Linked DNA regions of Homo sapiens: region 2 is linked to region 1. Evidence: promoter capture Hi-C in human tissues and cell types (Jung and others, 2019). All regions are on one chromosome and are shown on one strand. Each heading gives the region's core, a stretch centred on a gene start or on the middle of the fragment in contact. The rest is flanking DNA. Distances are from core to core; before and after follow the strand shown. Region 1 holds the start of DNMT3A (DNA methyltransferase 3 alpha). Region 2 overlaps ASXL2 (ASXL transcriptional regulator 2).

What was found. Contacts are between HindIII fragments. The study calls those that stand out against the background at their distance.
Region 2: a contact is called between a fragment that was not itself captured here and the fragment with the promoter of DNMT3A in region 1, in 1 of the 25 tissues and cell types used here (spleen).

Annotation. Positions count from the first base shown.
Region 1 is chr2:25,337,585-25,344,789 of GRCh38, forward strand. It overlaps DNMT3A (DNA methyltransferase 3 alpha), which reads right to left and starts at 4,341. Exons shown (of 23, transcript NM_022552.5): 1 at 4,242-4,341. RefSeq lists silencers at 3,064-3,183, 3,464-3,703, 3,804-3,973, 4,264-4,473, 4,534-5,013 and an enhancer at 5,134-5,253. The HindIII fragment of the contact is 18,341 bases long and covers 161-7,205 here.
Region 2 is chr2:25,805,767-25,812,971 of GRCh38, forward strand. It overlaps ASXL2 (ASXL transcriptional regulator 2), which reads right to left. Exons shown (of 13, transcript NM_018263.6): 4 at 463-571. It also overlaps the pseudogene TPM3P7. Among named protein-coding and RNA genes, the nearest start is that of ASXL2, 69 kb to the right of the region's middle. The HindIII fragment of the contact is 4,439 bases long and covers 2,049-6,487 here.

The DNA.
Region 1 (7,205 bases), core at 3,091-5,590:
ACACTGGCTCATGTGGAAGCAAGTCCTACCCATCCACAGGTGGCGGCACACCACGTACACACACATCATGCACAGACACATGTGCACTGAACCTCGTCTTGCCCACACACTTAGCCAAGTGGAGGCAGGCTCGGATACAGACATAAATCTCAGGCTGACACTTCATGGATCTCAGATTTGGTCATGTTCTTAGGGAAAAATCGTCAGAGAGAAATGATTGAAAATGAGCCCTCAAAATTAAAGTGGAAAGGGATCTGGCACCTTTAGTAGACCATTAAAGCCCTGCTCAGGAACAGCAAAGTCCCTGCAGAAACCCAGCCTCAGGCCAGGTGGGCTTCTGACGGGCTCTCTGCTCACATACTAATATTCAAACAAAAGTAGAAGCTATTCCCCGAGGGCCGCAGCATGGGGAATGGCATTGGGGTAGATGCTCTGGCCCTACCTGCTGGAGGCCAGAGACACACTCAACTCCCAGTGGGGCACGGGGTGGGGAGGATACGAGCACCAAGTCCAGGACCCCAGGCCAGCAAGTTGGAGGCAGCAGGAAGTACCCTGGGAGAGGCATGTGACTGGCACGTGAATGGCCCTCCAGGCCTCAGGCTCTGGGTAGCATGGACAACCCTGGGAAGAACTGGGCACCACCTCCCACAAACAGTCCCGTACCCAGCACTAAGAGCTCTCAGAGCTTAAACTCCTCTTTCAGACTGCAATTCTAAGGTTTGGGTTCTAATGCTGACATTTCGGGCCCAAAGATGGGGAGAGGGTGGTCTGTTTTAACTCACCCATTAGAGTCCTCTTTCTACCTGGATCCCAAAAAGAGAAGCCTTGGGGGAGTCTGGCTCTTGCTGGGAAAGAACTTGGGTCTTTCAGGGAGGTGTGACCCTGAGGAGCTGGCCTGTAAGTAGGCAGTGGCCGCTGGGCAGCGGCGCACAGCAGCAGGGGGAAGGGAGCCCAGCACTAACCTGCCTCGCTGCCTCGGGGAGAGGACTGGAGGGCAGTGCGCTCCCCTCGCTCAGCAGACACCCTCGGAGGCCTCACCGCTTGTCCAATGGGGACCCAGGGAGGCAAGGCCCCTGTTTCCTGGAGATCACAAACTGAGAGCGGGGACAGACACATGCAGCAGCCCAGGTAAGAGGTATAGCATGGGGCATCTTCCCCCGAGTGCAGGCCTGGCTCCACTTCTTCCTGCCGGTGACCCTGGACAAGGATTTTACCGTTTGTCCTGTCTTCCTAGCTTTTTGAGAACCACTGGCAGAGGTGGGTGTGAAAGCGATAGTAAAACATCCATAAGGGACTGAGGAGCTTACTGTGAATTGGACTTGAAAAGGAAACCTCAGAAATTATCCACACACAGGGATTTATACACAAACCTACAGGATACACACGTGCCGAGGCTTAAAGGAGGCTGTACTTTTTACACCCTCTGCAGAGTCGGACGTGACCAACCCGTCTCTTGCAGGGACCCTCCTCACACTGCCTCTCCTTCCCAAGGCCCAACTCGCTGGGCGCCCTGATCTCTCTCATATCTCCTTCTCCTTGGAAGCCTTCCCCTATTACTGCCATGTGCCGAAAAACAGACCACCCTGTCCCCATTGCTAGGCCTGAAATTCCACCACTAGAATCAGAGCCATAGAATGTCAAAGCTGGAATGGACCTTCCGGCTCTAGTCCAACCCCCACCCCACAGAGGAATCCTGTCCGCAGACACCCTGACAGATGGCTGCTGGCGTCCTTTCCTAGGCTTCTCCAGGAAGGACTCAGAGGGCAGCCCTGTGGACCAGTCCACTCCTTGAGTCTAGAAGGAATTCACCTTTCTTAGGGTCAGTCTCCTATGGAAGGCACTGGTGCCTGGGTGGGGTAACGAGGGAAGTTTGGTCGGCCTGAATCCGCAGCTGCTTATCTGGGGAGGAGCTGCACAGAGGAGGGGGACCCACCAGGGAGGCAGGCAGGTGCCAGAGCTGCTGCACAGGCCAGCCTGGTCCCTCGCCTGGAGCCAGCACATGTGCACACACAGACTCCCACCTTGACAGAGCCACCTGTCACAGCCCAAGCAGGGCCTCGGTAGAACCTGGAGGCAGAGGGGGACCATTTTGCCCCAGAAACCCAGCAGGAACTCCCTACAACCCAACTCTCCAAAGGCAGGCAGCTCAGAAAACTACCTGGAGATGGCCCCTGCTAGCCAACCAAAGAGGGTCCCCGGGATGCCTGGCCCCCCAAATCCCACAGGCCAGTCCTAACACCCAGGCAATAGCAAGGCGAATAGCTCCCCTGGCTGCAGCTGTCACATCTGCCCGCGAGGGAGGAGGCGACACTGGAGCAGCACCTGATCCCAGGATCCCTTCGTAGCCGCCCGCCCAGGAGGCGGGTTCAGCCGCTGGCAGCCTAGGGTGAAACATGAAGACTGAGCAGGCCCTCAGGGATGCTGATGGCAGTCTCTGGGCACGGCAGTGAGGGGCAAGTTGGGTCACAGGGCGGACAGCGCTTCTCCCCAAGGCTTCTGTCCCCGCTGGTTTGGAGGGGGGGTAGCTGCGCGGCCCTGGGGCTCGGCCCTGCCCACCCTCCCGCCTGCCGCAGGCCAGAGCTGCCCTGCTGGGTGCCAGACGCCATGTTGGGTCAAGGTGCAGCCGCAGGGGGCTCCCCTCAGGAGCCGGGGGAGGCAGCCCCTGGGAACCAGAGGGCACTGCTCCCCGCCCAGGGCGCCAACACCTCCTCAACTGGCCGTGCAGCGGAGAGAGGGTGCCAGGACGGAGGGGATGAGGAGAGGGGGAGAAATGGCAGAGGGGCGCTGGGGTGGGAGAGGGTGCCCCCAAGAAGGGAGGCTTCAGGAAAGCGAAAAGCAGTTTGGCAGCCCCAGGGCCGCGGGCCCCAGCGATGAGGGGCTGGGGGAGGCCAGGGGCGGGCCCTGGACCCGCGCCAGCCCGGTCCGCGCCGAAGGGGAGGGAAGGCAGGGCGGCCTGGGGGAGGGGAACTGGGGTGAGGGCGGGACACGGACAGCCGCCGCCTGCGGCTCCGAAGCTCGAGGTCTCCCGGGGTGCGGGGACGTGGGGCCGAAGACCCCGCTCCGCAGCCGCGGCGAGGCCTCGTCCTTCACTGTGCAGATGCGAAGCTTTCAAGGACACGTCTGCACCGGCCCGGCGGGGTGCGTGTGCGTGAGTGTGTCCGCGTGCGTGGGAGTGTGCGCGGGGGTGCTGGAGGGGCGACCCCGGGCGTACCCCCCCTGCGCCGCTCCCGGTCCCGGCCCCGCTACTTCCACCCCCGCGTTTTCCGGCCCCCGCGGCCCGGGCCCGGGCCCGGGATCCTCGCCCGCCCCCGCCCCGCCCCCACATTGCGGCGCCGCCACCGCGGCCGCCCGGGCACCCACGGCCCGCGGTGGGGACAGGGAGGAGCCGGGCACGACCACCCCTCTCCGTGCCGCCGGCACTCCGGGGGAAGGTGTGCCCCCAAGGCGGGCGCTCTCCCCGGCCCCGCCGCCCCTCCCGGCCCCGCCGGCGCCCCGCACCCCCAGCCACAGGTGGCCGGAGGAGGATCGCGGCGCGGCGCTCCCCGGCCCGGCCCCGCCATCACCCCTCGGCCCGCCCCCGGGGGCCTCCCGGGTCCCCCGCCCCGCGGGGCCGAGGAGGGCCGGGCGCCGGGGGGAGGGGCGGGGGGCCGGGTCGTGCCAGGCTGCCATTTTCTGCCGCCGCCGCGGAGCCTGCGCGGGGCCCGGCCCCCGCCCCCTCCCCCGCTCCCCCGGGCCGCCGCGGGGGCCGATCCTTCTGGGTCGGGGTCCGCGCCCTCCGGCGCCCTGGCCGCGGGCTCCAGGCGGGGCCGCGGGGCTGGGGCAGAGCCCGGAAGGCGGGGGCGGCCCGGCCGGGGCCCCTGCGGCAGCGGCGAGCCGGGCACCGCGGCGCAGGCCGGCGGTGGAGGGGCCCCCCGCGGCATTGTATAGACTTGAACTTGAGCCCGGAGCCGGGCGGGGGCGGGGAGGGGGGTCCGCGCCGGGAGCGGGCGGGACGGGAGGGGGCGCCTGCCGAGCCCGCGGGGACATAAACAAACCCTCAAATCCCCCGCGCCGCCCCGGCCAGCCCGGCCCGCCGTCCCCGCCTGCAGTCCCGGCCCCACGGGCGCCCGGCGCCGAGTTGCAGGGGTCCGGGAGCGTGCCCCGAGCCGGGCACTGCCAGCCGCGGCGCCCCCCGCCCGGCTCCCCGGCTCCCCGCCGCCTCCGGGCCGGCCTTCCGGGCCGCCAGCAGCGGCGCTCATTACCGTATGGCCGGTGGGGTCGGGCCGGCCCGGCTGCGCGCCCTGGTGCCGCGGCGCCGCGTCCCGGCTCGTCCTCTGCTCTCGCCGCCGCCGCCGCCCGCGCGCCCTCCCTCCCTCCCGGCCCGCCTGCCTGCCTCGCTCGCTCGCTCCCTCCCTCCGCTCGCTGTCGCGCTCCCTCTCTCCGCCTCCTCCGCCGGGTCCCCCCCTCCCACCCCTTCTCTCCGCCTTCCTCCTTCCCTCCCTCCGGCCGCCCGCGGGCCCAGGCCTCCGCCCGCCGCTCGCCCCCCGCGGCCGCGCTGGCCCCGGCCCCGGCGCTGCGGAGCCGGCCCGGGAGGCAGCGCCGACTGGGGGGCCCCGGGGCGCCGCGGCGGGAGCGGCCTGGGCGCGCGGCCGGTCCTAGCGCCCTCGGCGCGACTTCCCGGCCTCTGCGGCCCCGCCGGGGTCCCCGCACGCCGCTTGGCGGAGGTCTGGACCCCGCACCGCCCAGACCGGGGGCCGGGCCCCGGGCGCCCCGCCTCGGCCGCGCTCCCGGCCACTCAGAGCCCCTCGAGTCGTAGCCGAGCTCCGGGCCTCGCCGCAGCCCTCCCCACGCTGGGCGCCCCGCTACCTGGCGCTGCTTCTGCGCTGGGTCCCCGCATCCAGCACTGGCCGCAGGGACAGCGGCCCCTCCTCTCCCCGGGCCGGTGTCAAGTGCCTCCCCCCGCAGCCCGCGGAGCCCCCGGCGGCCTTCGCCCTGCAGTTCTCCCGACCTCCGCCAGAGCCCACTGCGCTCTGCCTGCCTCAGCACTGGGGCTGGGGACAGCAGCGCTGGCCCAACCGCGCCGCAACCCCCAGCCAGGTGCCGCCGCGGAGTAGAGGCCACTCTGCTCTACAGGGCCAAGGTCGGAGCGCCAGGCTCCTCCTGGCCGTCCCGCAGGCTCCAAAGCCTCTCTGAGATGAGCTGCCTTGAAGGGAGTGAGTTCCCCGTACCTTGAGGTGTCCAAGTAGAGTTGGGTGTCCTCAGTTGGGCACTGGAAGACTGAAAGATTTCATGAGGTGGGAGGTTGAATGAAATGACATTGAAGGTCTCTTCCAGCTGGAAGATTCTGTGTGTGCCTACACACCGCCCTCACCCCTTCACCGTGGGGGCTGTTCTCCTTCCCCATGGAGCGCTCAGGGCTCTAGGTTCCTGACTTGGGGCACCTCTGTCTAATTCCACCAGCACAGCCACTCACTATGTGCTCATCTCACTCCTCCAGCAGCCGCTGTAGGACTTGGGGCTGGGCACCCCCCCACCCCCGCCTCCAGCCTCCTTGCGCGCCCCAGCACCCCACCAGCCACCCGCAGCTCTGCACCCCGAATTCTACTCAGCACTTCAGCTATATCACAGTGCCCTGAGCTCCCTGACTGGCACAGGACATGGCGTGCTCCCTTCCCAGGGACCCGCCATCCTACTTGTGGGCAGGGATTGCTGGAGTTGGTGGTGGGACTCACTTCACAGTGAAGCGGATCCTACTTTTCCCTTCTCCCCATGCAGCCCAGCACCCGCCCCCCCAACGCCACCCTTTTAGCGTCACAGAACCGAGTTGCCAAGTTCTCTGGGACCGGGAGCTGACCTTTCATACAGACGGGAAGGTTTTCCTTCGGGAGGTTCTCCAATGCTTCCAGGTCCCTCCGTCTCCCCAACCCCCACCCTGAGCCTCGATATCTGAGACCAGCTTCTAGGCCATAGTTCTGGCCGTTTTCAGTGTCACCCTCACTCAAGTGGCCACCCCGCCCTACTGATGATAGGCCCTGCTGTCCATGGTCCCCACCGGCCCAGAGACTCCCAGTGCTCTGTGAGGACAGGGGCCGCGTCTGTCATCCCTGTAGCCCAGCACTTGGTGCTAGGAGATTCTCAGTAAACCTTGGTGGAATTAACATGTGACCCTCCTGGGCTGTTCGCTTTCTACATCAGGAGGGGCATCCGTGAACACTCTAAATGGCGCACCCAGCTTGGCAAAGGAGAAGACCGTTTATAGAAGGATGACTGAGATACCTCTGCCTTCATCAAGGGCTTACATATAACACGGCCCCAAACAGCAGCGACTGTTTACTGAGTGTCTACTATGTGCCAGGCACCAGACATGGTATTTTCTCTAGTCTTCACTAGCCCTGTGATATGGCTTGTACTCTCCTCACGCTACAGATGAAGAAACTGAGGCTCAGTCTTAGTCAAAGCCATACAGTTGGGAAGTGGCAGAGTCAGGATTCAAAGCCAGGTTCATCCGGCTCTGAAATCACCCCACATCACATCTTTTTTTTTTTTCTTTTATTGAGACACAGTCTCGCTCTGTTGCCCAGACTGGAGTGCAGTGGAGTGATCATGGCTCACTGTAGCCTCGACATTCTGGGCTCAACCAATCCTCCTGCCTCAGCCTTCTGAGTATCTGGGACTATAGATGCACACCACCATGCCTGGCTAATTTATTATTATTATTTGTAGAGATAGGGGCCTCTCTATGTTGATCAGGCTGGTCTTGAACTCCTGGGCTCAGGTGATGCTCCTATCTCAGGCTCCCAAGGTGTTGGGATGACAGGCATGAGCCATCGTGCCCAGCCCACACCACACTTTTGAAACATAGTTGCTCTTAAGAAGCTGAAATTCAGTGGGTGCAGTGGCTCACGCCTGTAACCCCAGCACTTTGGGAGGCCGAGGCGGGAGGATCACTTGAGGTCAGGAGTTCAAGACCAGCCTGGCTAACATGGTGAAACCCCGTCTCTACTTAAAATACAAAATTAGCTGGGTGTCATGGCGCATGCTTGTAAACCCAGTTACTCGGGAGGCTGAGGCAGGAGAATCGCTTGAACCTGGGTGGCGGAAGTTGCAGTGAGCTGATATCGTGCTACTGCACTCCAGCCTGGGTAACACAGCAAGACTTTGTCTCAAAAAAAAAAAAAAAAAAAAAAAGCTGAAATTCTCAGGGCCATGATGAGCAAATGTAAATT
Region 2 (7,205 bases), core at 3,018-5,517, 470 kb after region 1:
CCGGGTTCAAGCAATTCTCTTGCCTTAGCCTCCTGAGTGGCTGGGACTACAGGCACACACCGCTACGCCCTGGCTAATTTTTTGCATTTTAGTAGAGGTGGGGTTTCACTGTGTTGCCCAGGCTGGTCGCAAACTCCTGAGCTCAGGCAATTTGCCCACCTCGGCCTCCTAAAATGTTGGGATTACAGGCGTGAGCCACCACGCCTGGCCATAAGTCATTTTAATTTCGTTCTTTCTAGATAAGATTATCATCAAGAATAAAAAATAAAGTTACTTCTCTGATCTACCTATAGTTAGTTATAGATTAGTTTTTAAAAAATGTATTGGGTAGAGGTTTCAAAATATTACCTCTTCCTGAAAATAAGCTCTTCAAGAACAGAATTCTGTCCCTACGAGTCAAATATTTATATGTGGTCACTTCCTGTTTTTTCTTTCTAAATGACTCCCCAACAAAATATTTACCTTCAAAGTATATACTCCCATTCTACCTGGAACCTTATAGAAGATGCCCTCTTCACCTCTGGAGTTTGTGTGAAGCATTGCATTCAGGCATGCAAGAGGAGAAGTCCCACTGCAAAACAAAGAAGAGATGTGATAAGGAACACAACAATTAATTTCTGTCTCTGAATATCCTATGTAACACTCAAAATAAAATTAATTAGTCAATACTCCTTTGACTTAAACATATCTTATAAACTATAAGAAGTCTACCAATATAGAAAGGGGCTGCCATGGAGAAAATGGATGTAAAAATCATTTCCATGTATCTACAAAATAGTAATTCCTTAATGCTGATCCAGTATCTAACATTTAAGTCAAGAAAAATACAGAAGTATTACAAACATATTTTGTAAACATTCTATTTAGCACAAGCTTTACAAATGTCCAGAGGTAAAATGAGAAAAAAGAACACAAACACACACAGATTCAAATAAACAGTAATAATTCCATTGTATACTGCTGCACCAGACTGAATCTTAATTGTGAAACTAACACATTGCCATTGTCTCTTGTATTCAAACCTATCATGAGATCACTTAAAAAGTTATTAAGTAGGCTTCTGAATATTTATATGTAGCAACTTGGTTAAATGTTTATTAATTCTAATATATATTTATCATCTTTACTAGAATTTCAGGTATATAATAATCTATAGAAAAATATAAAATATAATTAATAATTATACCACAGTTAATTTTGCACCAACCAAATATTTTAAAATAGTGCTATAATACTTGAAGACAATGTTTCTACATCTAAGGAAAATAACAAAATCATTAGATAAAATATCATACTTCACATAAGAAAAAAATTAGGTAGCAAGCAAACACATAGTTCATATGGAAGCAATTAAATGGAAACCGTGGTCTGAAGTCTCTGGAGATGTGTGGCATCCTTAAATGGTTTTTAAAAACTGATCACAATACCTGAGGTTTAAGGCAGTTTAACCCCACATTTCCAGCTCTTTTCCCTCTCAGTTTTCTGTTGATGCTACTCAATAACCAAAAATAAGCCTACTAGAAGAGGCTGTTGGATTCTTAGTCTATCTAAGGAGTTATCTGCTGGGAAGAGCTGGGACATGAGTCCACTGTCTCTTGGTACTGTGAAAGTGTCCAGGGTCGAAAATACAGAGAAGGTTTTCATCCCCCCAAAACATTGGTGAATAATAACAAAGGAAAGAAAAGCCTTTTGCAGAAGAAACTATTGAGCATTTCCAAGTTGATTTCCATAGCTACGTTTATCTGATTTGGATTTCCATGTTAAAAATGTATATAATGTAATTCCAATCAGGATCCCAAAGTTTGTATCAAATAAATATATAAAAATTGCCAAGAAATTTCCAGAAAAAAAATGATGGGAGACTTGCTTAAAAAGATATTAACATGTACTCTTAGCCACTATTATTGAAGTAGTATGTTTCCGAGAGAAAAAAAATCACCAAATGAATACCCTCATAGACTGTTGGTGGAAGAAAACAGAAAATGCAGAAACAGATAATAATTTAAAAGGTATCATTTATGTTTAGTATGAAAAACATGAGGTCATGCCATAGTCCCCTGTAGTTTGACTACCTGGCTTCTGTTCCCTCTTCTTTGGAGACAGTACCCAAAAATTTCCTGTGAAACAACTTTTCTCACTTTCAGTCATGTGGTTGAGAGGGACTGAATCCCATGCCCAGCCCGGGGGTAAATCCTAATTGGTTTAAATTAATCAGCTTTTACACACACACACACACACACACACACACACACACACTCTCCACCCCAAAGAACAGATACATGACTTAGGGCCAAAAATCTATGGAGCTATTTACTTGGGTATATGGGGGGGAAAAAAAACAACCAAAACTTGTTCTCCACGGAATCTTCAGAAAGGGATCCTTTCTCTTCCCTTGTGTGGTATTAGGAAGCAAGGCCTAAAACATTCACAGTCATTGTGTGACCACAAAGGAAAAATCTGGAATTAGAATGGCACAACATACAAGACAGACTGAGGAGTGACACAGTATGAATCGTAAGGAGAAATCCAACACCAAAAAGGGCAGAACTGAGAAAAGTCAGGAAGCAAATTTGTTTTTGTTTTTGAGACAGAGTCTCACTCTATCCCCCAGGCTGGAGTGCAATGGTGCAATCTTGGCTCACTGCAACCTTCATCTCCTGGGTTCAAGAGATTCTCATGCTCAGCCTCCCATGTAGCTGGGATTGCAGATGCCTGCCACCACACCCTGGTAATTTTTGTATTTTCAGTAGAGATGGAGTTTCACCATGTTGGCCAGGCTGGTCTCGAACTCCTGACCTCAGGTGATCTGCCCACCTCAGCCTCCCAGAGTGCTCGGATTACAGGTGTTAGCCACTGCGCCTGGCCAAAATTTTTAAAGTAGTATTACTTTTGCCTGTATCAAGCCTTTTTTGTTTTGTTTTTTGGAGAGACCTGTTCTTTATTTCAAAAAGACACTTGTGTCAATATTTGGTATCAAAAGAGTTGCACTATTGATTTGTCTTTCTCCCAGTTGGCCCCAAAGAGACCACATCAAAGGAGTGTACATTTTAAGCCAATAAGCTGCAGGATGTACACCTAACAGACCTCATTGAAACCTTACCAGAAAATGGGGATTGGGTAGGGAAAGAAACTTTAAAAGATCAGCAAACTGCCAGCCCACACACTGTATAGGCTGTCACAGCCAGACAGGGTGGCCAGGGTGCCACAAACCCAAAGAAGCAAAGCTTCAAAATAATAAAAAACTTTAAAAGTTTTGTACATAAGCTATTCAAGATTTCTCTGATACAAAGTACAATGAGATAGCACTTTTAGAGAGAGCAGCTTCAAACCCAGAAAAGGATAATGAGATGAGTTTCACATGGCTAAATCAGTGGCAAAACATAATCTTTCAAGGAGGGAGGATAGCAATTAAGTGGTCACTGCAACATAAGGGGCACATGATCCATTCTGCAGGCAGTTGAGAGGGGGCAGAGTTGGGACAAAAATTTAGTTTCAGAGGTCTTACCATTTTAATTTGGTCACTTCTAATGAAAAAAAAAAAAGAAATAACATTGTCCAAAGATATCTTAAAGCTGAAAACCTGAAAAGCACATTTTTGTTTTGTTTTTGTTGTTGTTTGGCTAACTCCTCCTGGAATCACCTTTCTGGTTTGGGGGGTACTTTTTACAGAGCAGTGAAATTTCCCATAATGGATTCTTTCCCTGGGCTCTGTTTGGCTCTCAGTAAGGCAGGCCTATACCTTTTCCTCTTCTCTATGGAAAGGGCAATATGCATTAAGCTGAAAAGTCACCTTCCAAAAGTGAAAAAGGAATAGATTGCTGCTTCAGAGCTGTGGAATTATTTGGAATGTTTTACAAATGGTTGCTATAAAACAACAAAAAAGGTATTACAAAATGTGTACATCACAACATGCTTTTAAAGGCATTATGCATTGTGTTCACATTCCCTTAAGTGTTGTTCCCAAAGGTGCACAGCCTCTAGCCCAGCTGGAATCTCTGGGAAGAGGCAGAGACAGTTTAGCGAAAAAGACACAGGGGAGGTGGGGGCAGCGAAAGGAGAAAGCAGCCTTCCAGTTATAAAGGTCAGCTTTGGGTAGGCTGGCCTCAGATGGAATCAGGGTCAGAGGGAGGAGCAGCAGCAGGGTGAGACTGAGGTGCTCTACATCTCATTCAGGTCAAGCAGAGTCTGGTCCAGCATCCTTTGTACAGAGTGCCCCTCTTTGGTACATTTTCAGTTTATCTTCCAAGTCATCAGTTGTCTTTTCCAGCTTGGCTACCGATCTCTCAGCAAACTCAGCACAGGTCTCTACCTCCTTGAGTTTATCAGTAAGAATCTTGATCTCTTCCACGTTTGTCTTCTTTTTGAGAGTACTTTTCTTCAGCATCACTCAGACACTTCAGGTTATGGTCCATCAGTCTCATCTGCTCATCCATCTCTCGGCAATGGGACACTGCCAGCTCAGCTCGTTCCTCTGTGAGTTCCAAGTCTCTTTCAATGACCACCAACTTACGAGCCACCTCTTCATACTTCCTATCTGCCTATTCTGCAGTGTGTTTAGCTTCTTTGAGTTGGATTTCCTGGAATTCCATCTTTTAAGGTCCAGTTTTTAACAACCTTCATATCTCTCTCACTCTGATCAGTAGCTTTTTCCGCTTCTTCCGGCTTTTGCAGGGCAGTGGCCACGTGCTCCTGAGCACAGTCCAGCTCCTCTTCAACCAGCTGGATCCTATGGTTCAAGGAGGCCACCTCAGCCTCAGCCTGTTCCCAGGCGCGCCTTTCTCCTTCAGCTTCTCGCTGGAGGTGCTCAGCTCTCTCCTCTGCATCATCTGCCTGCTGCTGCAGAACCTGGATATTGTGCTTCACTGCCTCAATAGTGGTGATCCCAGCCATGGTGCCCACCCAGCTACTGCTCACACTCCAGATCCTGCCTCCTCTGCTCAGCGTTGCAGCTGCTTCTCACCAGTGTATCAAGTCTTGCCTTGAGCCAGTACTACCTTTGGAATTTTGTTGAGATTTAAGTCACAAGAAGCTGAAAAAGTCCTAAATAAAACAGTTTAGTAGTGCTAGAATATCTCATACATCTGGGGGGAATGTGCACACAGTATATACAAAAACATATTCCAAATGAATTAAAAGCCAAAGGCAAAATATAAAAGATTAAAAGAAAACAGTATAATCTTCTGGGCACTGTGGCTCATGCCTGTAATCCAAGCACTTTGGGAGGCTGAGGCGGGTGGATCTCTTGAGTCTAGTCTGAGCAACCCCTGTCTCTACAAAAAATACAAAAATACACACACACACACACACACACACACACACACACACACACACACAAAATCAGCCATGCATTGTGGCACACGCCTGTAGTACCAGCTACTTTGGAGGCTGAGGCGGGAAGATCACCTGAGCCCAGGAAGTTGAGGCTGCAGTGAGCCATGATCACACCACTGCACTCTAGCCTGGGCAACAGAGTGAGACCATGGCTTAAAAAATAAATAAATAAATAAATAAATAACAAAAGAAAACAGTATAACCTAGAAGACAGAGAAAGCTTTCCACAAAAGAGAAAAACCCAAAAACCACCAAAGAAACATATTGACTGTATAAAATAAAAATTTCTACACAGGAAAAAAATAAAAGCAACAAAACTACAGAAAATATATGAAGCTAGAATAATTAACTGCAAAACATACGGCAGACAAAAGATTAATAGTCCTAAGAAGATATTCTTTAGGAAAACAAATAGCTCATTAGAAAAAAATGGAAAAAAGGACGTGAACAAATGATTCATAAACCATAAATGTAAATTACCAATAAAATGTATAATAAGAAGCTCAAACTTAATAGTGGTTATAAAAAGGCAAATTAAATCAAGATGCCATTGGTCAGATGGAAAGAAAGAAAATGACCCAAGCCATAGTTAACAGTTTTATGCCAATGTCAATTTCCTGGTTTGATATAATATGTATTTATATTTATATTTGTATTTATTTATATTTTTTTGAGATGGAGTCTCACTCTGTCAGCAAGGCTGGAGTACAGTGGTGCGATCTTGGCTTACTGTAACCTCTGCCTCTCGGGTTCAAGCGATTCTCCTGCCTCAGCCTCCTGAGTAGCTGGGATTAGAGGCACACACCACCACACCCAGCTAATTTTTGTATTTTTAGTAGATGGGGTTTCACCATGTTGGCTAGGCTGGTCTTGAACTCCTCCTGACCTCAAGTGATCCACACGCATCAGCCTCCCAAAGTGCTGGGATTACAGGTGTCAGCCACTGTGCCTGGTCTGATATTGTACTATATTTACATAAGATATTACCATTAAAGGAAACTGGATGAACTGTACATGGGACCCTAGGTACTATTTTTGCAATTTCCTGTGAGTCTATAATTATTTCAAAAAAAAAAAAAGGCTGGCCGCAGTGGCTCGCGTCTATAATCCCAGCACTTTGGGAGCCGAGGCAGGTGGATTACCTGAAGGTCAGGAATTAAAGACCAGCCTGGCCAACATGGTGAAACCCCATTTCTACTAAAAATATAAAAAATTAGCTGGGTATGGTGGCGGGCGCCTGTAATCCCAGCTACTCGGAAGGCTGAGGCAGGAGAATCTCTTGAAACTGGGAGGTGGAAGTTGCAGTGAGCCGAGACCGCGCCATTGCACTCCAGCCTGGGCAACAACAGTGAAAATTAATCTCCAAATAACAACAACAATAACAAAAAATGGATTGATAAAATCCATTGCTGACAAGGTTATGGGCAAATAGGCACTCTTACAGACTGTTGAGAGGACAGAAAACTGCTGCCTTTTCCCACATTACTCAATTCTGCCTTAGGAAAGTAATATGGAAATATCCATTAAAACTAAATATATTTGGGACCACTGATGCAACAATCCCACTTGAATCTGTCCTACAAAACCAAGGCCAAAGGACTTAAGGACAAATGTGCAAGGATTTACTCCATCATTGAAAGCATCAAAGCACTGAAAAATGACCTCAAACTCCATTAAGAAGAGAATGTTGACTATGATAATAAAGTAACCAACAGGATAGAAATCAACAACAGCCATGTTGGCAGCTAAAAGAGTGCTAAGTTCCAGGAAGCATTTTGTTTAGTCCTCACAACAATCTATGAGGTGAGCAAAATTATTACACCGTTTTTACAAATGAAGAAACTATAAGTTTTCAATAAGCTGTTCAAGATCAT